2 separate regions of the Homo sapiens genome follow, and region 1 is linked to region 2. The links are contacts of gene promoters, found by promoter capture Hi-C in human tissues and cell types (Jung and others, 2019). All regions are on one chromosome and are shown on one strand. Each heading gives the region's core, a stretch centred on a gene start or on the middle of the fragment in contact. The rest is flanking DNA. Distances are from core to core; before and after follow the strand shown.

Evidence for each region. Contacts are between HindIII fragments. The study calls those that stand out against the background at their distance.
Region 1: a contact is called between a fragment that was not itself captured here and the fragment with the promoter of ALKBH8 in region 2, in 1 of the 25 tissues and cell types used here (spleen).

What each region holds. Positions count from the first base shown.
Region 1 is chr11:107,742,457-107,747,488 of GRCh38, reverse strand. No RefSeq gene overlaps it. Among named protein-coding and RNA genes, the nearest start is that of SLN, 33 kb to the right of the region's middle. The HindIII fragment of the contact is 4,332 bases long and covers 1,054-5,032 here.
Region 2 is chr11:107,563,801-107,568,541 of GRCh38, reverse strand. ALKBH8 (alkB homolog 8, tRNA methyltransferase) reads left to right here and starts at 2,807. Exons shown (of 12, transcript NM_138775.3): 1 at 2,807-2,941. RefSeq lists enhancers at 507-586, 2,515-2,574, 2,421-2,937, 2,645-3,134, 2,938-3,456. The HindIII fragment of the contact is 10,640 bases long and covers 1-4,741 here.

The sequences.
Region 1 (5,032 bases), core at 1,970-4,469, 180 kb before region 2:
GGCTGGGGCAGGATCACTTGAAGCCAGGAGACCGCATATCTAAACAAACAAAAACAAATAGTTTTGGTATAGGCATGAACAAATGATTAAAAAATATTTTTAAGGCTTTGGTTCAGATTTTCAAAAAGAAATTTTTATTTTATTTTTATTTATTTATTTTTTGAGACAAAGACTCACTGTGTCACCCAGGCTGGAGTGAAGTGGAGTGATCATGGCTCACTGCAGCCTCTAACTCCTGGGCTCAAGCGAACCCCCCTCCTCAGCCTTGAGTAGCTGGGACTGCAGGACTGTGCCACCACTCCTGGCTGATTTTTATATTTTTTTGTAGAGATAGGAGTCTCCCAATATTGCCCAGGCTGGTCTCAAACTTCTGGTCTCAAGCCATCCCTCTGCCTTGGCCTCCCAAAACACTGGCATTATAAGTGGGAGCTACTATACCTGGTCTGAAAAAATTTCTAAGAAAAAAAACCCTGACAAATTTGAAGTCCCTATATTTCCCTTTCTTATGTTATTCCTCTCCTTCCTAGAGTTAACCATTATAATGGATTTAGTGCTTTGACACATTTGCTCCATATATATGTACTAATAAATATAATTTAATTTACAGAAATGGTAACACAGTCTATAACATCTTGAAATTTGCTTTTTTTTAAACTGTGGTGGCAAATAATACTTCAGTGAACCTCCTTGCACATACGTGAGTTTCTTTAATATACATTACATAAATCATATATATAACATTAATTACATATATTACTATTATATATGTGTATATATCTAGAAGTAAAATTCATTGTTAAATATAGAGCATTCTCAGTGTTATTAGATCTTGTCTCATTCCCTCCCTAGATAGCATTGTCCCATCTTCATCGACACTTCTTATTAGACTTTAAAACCTTTATAAAATGAATTGAGGTGAAAGTTTGTCTTACTGTTTTATGGTGCATCTTGATTAACGGGGAATATTTTTCATGTTTTCTTTTTTTTGGTCATTAAGATTTCCTGTTTTTTTGAGAGTTGCCTGTTTATATCCTTTGCTCATTTTTTCTATTGGGTTATTAGTCTTTCTCTTATTGACTTTAGGAATTCTTTGAGCTCTGGATATTATTTCTTTGATGGTTTTTATAAAGTTAACATTTCCCCAGTCTATGGCTAATATTTTTTTTTAATTTTAAATTTTTGTGGGTACATAGGTGTATATATTTATGGGTTGCATGAGGTATTTTGATACAGGCATGCAATGGGTAATAATAACATCAGGGTAAATAGGGGTATCCATCACCTCAAGCATTTATCCTTTGTGTTTCAAACATTCTGACATACTCTTTTAGTTATTTTAAAAATTCATATATCTATATATATTTTTACTATAGTCATCCCGTTGTACTAGCAAATACTAGGTCTTATCTATTTTTCTTTTCTTTTCTTTTTTTTTTTTTTTAGAAGGATCTCACTCTGTCACCCAGGCTGGGGTGCAGTGGTACAATCTTGACTCACTGCAACCTCTGCCTCTTGGGTTCAAGCGATTCTCTTGCTTCAGTCTCCCGAGTAGCTGGGATTACAGGTGTGCACCACCACTCCCAGCTAATTTTTATATTTTTAGTATAGACGGTGTTTCACCATGTTGGCCAGGCTAGTCTCAAACTCCTGACCTCAAGTGATCCACCTGCCTTGGCCTCCCAAAGTGCTGGGATTACAGGCGTGAGCCACTGCACCCAGCCTCTAATTTATTCTAACTACTTTTTTTTGTAGCCGTTAACCATTCCCCACCCCCATACCCACTCCCACTTCACCACTACCCTTCCCAGGCTGTGGTAACCATCTTTCTACTCTCTATTTCCATGAATTCAATTGTTTTAATTTTTAGCTCCCACAGATAAGTGAGAAGAGGTGATGTTTATCATTCTGTGCCTGACTTACTTCACTTAACATAATGACCTCCAGTTCCATCTCAGTTGTTGGATATGACAGGATCTCATCCTTTTTTGTAGCTGAATAGTACTCCATTATATATAGTACCACATTTTCTTTATCTACTCATCTGTTGATGGACACTTAGGTTGCTTCGAAATCTTGGCTACTGTGAACAGTGCTGCAATAAATATGGGAGTGCAGATATCTCTCTGATATACTGATTTCCTGTCTTTTGGGTATAAACCTAGGAGTGGGATTGCTGGATTATATGGTAGCTCTATTTTTAGTTTTTTGAGGAACCTCCAAACTGTTTTTCATAGTGGTTGTGCTCATTTTACATTCCCACCAAGAGTGTATGAGAATTCCCTTTTCTCCTCATCCTTGCCAACATTTGTTATTGTATGGCTTATCTCTTAACTTGGTTTATAGAGTCCTGCTTTTACAGACATTTCACATTTTTAAATAGTCCAAAATGAACACTCTTTTTATTTGTAAAAAGACTGACCTACCATCTGACACCAAATGAAGGCAAGACCAGTCAACTCCAGTCATTCTAGTGATCTCCAGGCTATTGGCAAATAAGGCATTCAGCACAAGTGTTCTTTTAATTGGGACATGCTGTGAATAATTAGCATGGCCAGTCCCCATCAGGTGTCAGAGAGCTCTTCTTGCCTTCTGGAAGGAGTTTGGATGAGGAGTCATCTCCTGCTGGCTCCGCTCCTCATGGTGTGCCCTTGGTAGAGACCTGGCTTCCAGCTCTACCACTAATTCCATTTAAACCCCAGTTTCCTGATATGTAGAAAAGAATAACGCTGCTTCACAGGGCTGTTGGATGCACGCTGGATAGGGGTAAAAATGCTTTGCAAGATAACAGATAAAAGCAAAATACTGTTATTACTAACCTCTGTGGGCTTCATCGTTCATATGTGTAGAATAAGAGGGATGGGACTAGGTATTAACAGCCCCTTTCAGCTCTACAATAGCCTGTGATTCTGTGACTAGGGGTAAAAACAGAACCTCCAAGTAAGATGGGGTAGCAGGTGGCCTCTAGCAGTTATGGGGCTCTTGGTAAGGCCACCTACTGGAAGAAATATTACAAGGCAAATAAGAAAATGCAATATCCCTGCCTTCCTCTCTTCTTCACTTCTCCCATTCTTCCCTGCTTTCCTTTCATCTGTTTCTCCCTTCTGTCTTCCTTTCTTCTATTCTTGGAACACTCCCCCACTTTACTGGCTCAATTCTATTTATCCTTCAGATATTCTTTGTTTTTTTCCTGGGAAGCATCCTCTAGGAGGCTTTTAATGATCATCAAATTTTATGCAGTGGTGTCCTTCCTATGTGCTTCCATGGTGTCCTCATAACCTCCACCATTGCACTTACTCGTATTAATTGTCTGCAATCCTTATAAAATTTAAGCTTGGGGAATAGAGAGGGCTCATTTCTTGTTCGCTGCTGTATCCCCAGAGCCTGTTTCAGTGCTGGGAATAAAGCAGGGTGCTCAAATCCCGTTGGATGAAGGAGTAAATATACAGGAACTATGCTAGGCAGCATGAGTACAGAGATGAATAAGAATTGTCCTTAGCTATGAAGGAATTAAAGGTCTTGAAGGGAGGAGGGACATGCAATCAAGTAACTGCAATACTGTATTATAAGAACAAGCAACAGAAATCCATTTGAAAGTACAGCTTTATATATAGAGAAGTGTTTAGACAGGTCAAAGAAAGCACTCTGAGAAAGAGATGAGCTGGATTTTCAAAAATGAGCAGGAATGATGTGTCAATCTGAGTAAAGTAAGGGACTTGCCAGATAGAAGCAGCTCACTTATTTAATAATTAATTCAAAAAATATTTATTGAGCTTCTACATTGCTCCAGGTACTGTTGTAGGTGCTGAGGGTACAACAGATACAAAGAGAGTCCGCCCTGGTGGAGCCCCTCCTCACCTCCTGCAGAGGTCCTCTTTCTGTAGTGACCCCTGTCATCCTGGGCCTCTGCAGCTCTTCTGAGAATGTGGTATTTAATGCATATGAAGTCCTATAGAGTATCTGACATGCCTCTCTTTGATCCAGGAAAACAGGGTCCTGGCTGTTTTTGTGCTAAGGGAGACGTGAGGGTTTGTTTCTCAATGTTTTGATCAAAGGCACACAGCTGTCACACGAGAACGCCTTGGAAATGTAATCTGACTGCCCCAAAGCACCAACTGGCCTCACCATCTGTCTCAGGCCACAGTCTGACTGAGGACTGTCTTTGGCTGAACACCCCTTGTATGGGTCAAATACTAACACTGGCATCCACCAGGGGAAATAACAAAGTAAGAAAAAGTAAAAATGGAATAAAGGCTGAAGGGAGTCTCATAAATCAACCCACACCATTATGCAGAGCTTTTATGGAGAAATCAGTAGAAAGAAATACAGAGTTACATAGAGGTGAAAGATAAATCATTAAAGGGGTCCTTTTATGGCAAAACTGAATTTCCACTTTCAGCAAGTTTTTGGCTGATTCCTATGGAATGATAGAATGGAAATGAACTTCTTTCCTGTGTTCTGCTTACTTATCTAAGTCAACTTGGCATTTTATTTTATTTTTGAGACAGGGTTTCACTCTGTTGCAGAGGCTGTAGTGCAGTGGCATGATCTTGGCTCACTGTAACCTCCACCTCCCAAGATCAAGCAATTCTCATGCCTCAGCCTTTCTAGTAGCTGGGATTACAGGCACCTGCCACCATGCCTGGCTAATTTTTGTATTTTTAGTAGAGATGGGGTTTCACCATGTTGGCCAGGCTGGTCTCAAACTCCTGGCTTCAAGTGATCCACCCACCTCAGCCTCCCAAAGTGCTGGAATTACAGGCGTGAGCCACTGCTACTGGCCAATTTGGCATTTTAAACAAGCCTTCTTCTCCAGGTGAGTGGCTGCAGGGACGAACATAAGATTTATAACTTTAAAGAGAGAAAGAGGATAGAAGGGGAATTGAGAATATATTTTATCATTTAAAAATATTGGATGGGTTGGGCACCGTGGCTCATGCCTGTAATCCCAGCATTTTGGGAGGCCAAGGCAGGTGGATCACCTGAGGTCAGGAGTTTGAGACCAGCCTGGCCAACACGGTGAAACCCTGTGTGT
Region 2 (4,741 bases), core at 1,558-4,057:
GGATGTCACACAAAATTGTATATGTATTCACCTTTTTCTGGAGATATTGAGACATGGATGGGCAGCAGATAATGGGAAATGAAGGCTTGTAACTCAGGAGAAGAAGATAAATGAATAATCACTTAACAGCTAATCTCTGTTTGGTGTTTTATTAATTATCACGTAAATCTCAACAAAATAAATGCTGTTTTGTAGTTTTGATTTCAGGTCATACTCCAATGCCCCCATATTCTTTAGAAACCACTCTGGTTTCTAAAGGGAAGTGTTAATCAAGTTTAGCCTAAAGCTGCCTCCTTACATATTTAAGTTCAGCCTAAAGGTTTTTCTGTACATCGTGAACAAGTGGAGGAGTAAACCAACCATAGCCCACACCTGTGCCAATCGCTGAGTTTTGGCCAATCAAATGTAGCCAATTGTTTGAACAGTGTTCAAATAAGGCAAACACCAACCTGTAACCAATAACAGCTGTTTCTGCACCTCACTTCTGATTTCTGTACATCATTTCCTTTTTTTTTTTTTGTCTACAAATCCTCCACCACATGGCTGTGCTGGAGTCTCTCCAAATCTGCTGTGATTCTGGGGGCTGCCCGATTTACGAATCAAAAGTTCATTGCTCAATTAAACTCCTTTAAATTTAATTTGGCTAAAGTTTTTCTTTTAATAGAAGCCAGGGCTGAAGATAAAGATTAGGGAATGATTCACAAATCTCTTTATAACTCTGGGGAGGGCAGACAGGAAGAGACTAGAATAACAGAAAAGAGTCAAACTCAAAATCTGAGGGATTGCCTATATTTAATTACGGACAGAGTGAGAGAAACTAGTGGAAAATTCTGAAAGTAAGTGATCAGATCGTATAAAGAGAATTAAAAGAGAGGTGCAGAAAAAAAGTTTTAAAAGCTTCAGCACCTTAAAGCAGGACAAATACTGAGATGAAGTAATTGAATTTGATCAGTAAGAGATAAGAGGATATTTTACACTGTTATCCAGTTTGGTAGACACCGGCCACTTGTGGCTACTTAAGTTTAATTGAAACTAAAATTTAAACATTCAAAATTCATTTCCTTAGTCATACTAGCCACATTTGAAATGCTCATAAGCCACACGTTAACTAGTGTCTATTATGTTGGACAGCTCAAACTATAAAATATTTCCATCATTGCAGAAAGCTCTATGGGGATGTGTTTTTGAAAGCATCCAGTAGTGCAGAAGCAGAATTGCAATGGGGAGATTTCCTGTGTGTCCTCTTATACTCATGTAGCTTGCAATGTCTGGTGGATTTGACCTCTCCAGCTTGCACTTGCCTCCTCATTTTTACTATTAAGTTTTGGTCTCACCCTTTCTTTCCTAGACTATTGCAATGCTTGCCTATCTGCCTCTTCTGTTCTTTCATGTTTGTAACCTATTCTCCACACAAATCATTCCGCCACTCAACAGCACTCTTTTTTCACTGCCACTTTTCCTGGTCAGCCAGCTATTTTATTGTTAGTCCACTGTGGTGCACTGCAGATAGGGGCCATTGTATCAACAACATGGGAAGGTGATTCCTCTTCCCCTACACCTTTCCCTCCCTGCACTCACATAGCTCATAAACCAATGCAGGTAGAAGGATTATGGTACATTTATATAACAAATAACAGAGCAGGAACAACTGCTAATCATCACCCTCTCCTTTGTCTTTTACTTATGATCTGTTACCAGCTCTTTTTTCTTTCCCTCTGCCACTACTGGGCTTGTTAATATTTCGTTACTTTTCACTTCATCAGTCATCTTCTAGTCTCTCCTCCCACTTGCCACAAGAAGCTCTGGTCATATCATTTCATTTCTCTAACCTTCCTCCCTGCAACTCCCACTCTGCAGGCCTACAGAATTCTGTCTTGCTTCCTTCACCATTCTTCCACACATCTTTCTATTACTCTGTGGTACTCACCATTCCCCTGGCACATTCATGCATATTCACTTCCTTCCCTCCCGCCCATGCAATGCCATCTTTCAGACCCCAGGATCCTCTCCCATATCTCTGTGAACCCTGAATATCTGAGACAGGTCTCAGACAATTTAGGAAATTTATTTTGCCAAAGTTAAGGACGCCCGCCCGTGACACAGCCTCAGGAGGTCCTGATGATATGTGTCCAGGGTGGTCGGGGCACAGCTTGGTTTTATACATTTTAGGGAGACATGAGGCATCAATCAATATATGTAAGATGAACATTGGTTCCGTCCAGAAAGGAGGGACAAATTGAAGCAGAGGCGGGCCAACTCAAAGTGAGGAGGGGGCTTCCAGGTCGCACGTATTACAGCTGAGAGACAAATGGTTGCATTCTTTTGAGTTTCTGATGAGCCTTTCCAAAGGAGGCAATCAGATATGCATTTATCTCAGTGAGCAGAGGGATGACTCAGAGGGATGACTTTGAATAGAATGGGAGGCAGGTTTGCCCAAGCAGTTCCTAGCTTGACTTTTCCCTTTAGCTTAGTGATTTTGTGGCACCAAGATTTATTTTCCTTTCTCACCTCTAATAAGATTCAGGAGGAAATATGCACGAAGAATAGAAGGTGCCAGGGGACATTGCTGAAAGACCAAAGGGCCCAAACCTGTTTGACCTTGTCCATTTGGAGAGCAACAGATAAAAATATAGCTGCACTACCAATTATTACTACTCCCCCCAAAAAGACAACTGAATTTTCAGTGTAACAGACAGCACTTTACAAAGACACTTGGTCGAAAAAGGGTCACTCCCGGGCTCTGGGAGGCGAAGAGGACTGTGGGAGCGCTGTTCGTTGTCCCGCGGGCTCATGGGAAATGTAGTGCAGTTTTCTCCAACATGGCCGCGCCCAGGGGAGATGGCGTGCAAGTATCCGCTGCGGTGTTCTGGTGCTAGAGTGGAGAGGCTGGCAAAGAAGAAGGCACACGCATGGTGAGAATCCGGCCTGAGCCGAAGCGGAGGTGTGTGGCACTTCTTACTGGCGGGCATACGGGCAGCAAATCACCGCTTCCTCTTTTCAGCCTCTTCCGGTCTTCTCTATCCGCCTTGCCAGCTAGGGCTGAGAACCTAGGGAAAGGGGATGGATCCCAGAGGCGCCCTTGGTGCAGTGTGGGCAGTAGGGTGTCTGCGTTGGGTGGTTCTCTCAGTGTTTAGGGTGCATGTGTTTGTGTTTGGTTCGGGCGCTCACGTGGTGCCTGTGTCAATCTTCTGTTTTCTTTGGGGTTGGAGAGGACGGTTGCAACATGGGGCGTGTTAGTGTGGCGCTTCTGGGGCTTTTCTGACCGGTGACAATCGGTCTGATTGCATCGATGCAAAGGCAGTGCTGATGATCTGATCCCTTGCGCAGCTGAGTCTTCCTGTGCTCTTATTTGAGCAATCCCTGCGACTCCTGGACCTCTGGTAGCGTCAGCCTGTTATTTTGATAGATTTCATTGAATATTTATTGTCAGTTGTATGTCAGGCACCAAGTCTGTGCCCTTAAATAGATGACAGTTTTCTGGCCGAAGCCCAACACAAACAGGCAATTATAATACCATGTGAGAACTCTAGAGATAGAGGTCCATGCTAGGTGTTAATGAAAACGTTGAAGAAGGCCACCAAACTCAGAATTCTGGAGGAGGGGAGGTTTAGGAGGTAAGACAGCAAAGTCGATTTAGGTTTATTCGACAAATGGTTATTGAGTGGCTGCTAGGTGCTAAATCCTGTTTAAGTGCTGGGTGCTACAGGGTGAACAATAGAGACAAAATCTCTACTTCATGGAGTGAGTGTTCTTTATTCAGTTATGGGGAAAGACAGAATAAACAAATTAATGAGAGTGTAAGAAAATATGTAGTAAGTGTTATTCAAAGAGTTAAAACGGGGTGCCGTGACAAGTGATGGGGTGAATTTTTTTCTAAAAATTTTAAATCTTTATTTTCTTTTTAAATAGATGATGCAGTTTAAATAGCTACTAACTTCAAAAGTCATGAAAGAAGAAAGCTCCCTTTCATTCCTTTACTCATCGATCCATTTTCCTTCCCTGGAGGCAACCCATATCACCAATTTCTTGTGTGTCCTAAAGATTTATATGTAAACTCTGTATACCAGTGCCGTACGTTAAAATTGGGCCTCGTTTGATAGGAAGTTAGATTCTTTCTAATCTTTGCTATTAATTATTAGGTTGTGCAAAAGTAATCATGGTTTTTGCATTTTTTTAAACATATAAGTATAGGAACATTTGTCTATACTGCTTGTTTCATAATAGGCTCTCTATTATTCAAGGAGGGCATGATGTACATACTACTATTACCACGTAGGGCAATATCTAGTAGGATATATTGGCTTTAAACTCACTAACAAGCAAGTAGCAGAGCATGCATAATCTCCAAACTTTCATTATCCCACAGAGAGTACGCTTAGGCTGGAGCTGGCTGAACCGGACTCAGCATGGCTAGTATCATAGTTAATAGTGACTTCACTCCAGTAATGTCACAGGGAGCATCCAAGTATCTGTGCATTAGTGGAAACTCTGGCCAGGGAAGTGGCTTTGTCAGAAGGGGGCACCTCCAGACCTCAGCAGCTGGTATCAGCCTATCCTTGTTGAGATGACTCAGATATGTTGGGCCAGCACATTGCCTAGCCACTGGAATGGTGGAAAACTGAGCCTCAAAGGCCATTTAGTGTCTTTCTTCACGTGCAATAATATTGCATGACTGAGGGAGAGAAAAAGGAAAGGGATGACAAAAATGTGGTTATGAGGCTCCACCTGCTGGTGCTGGACT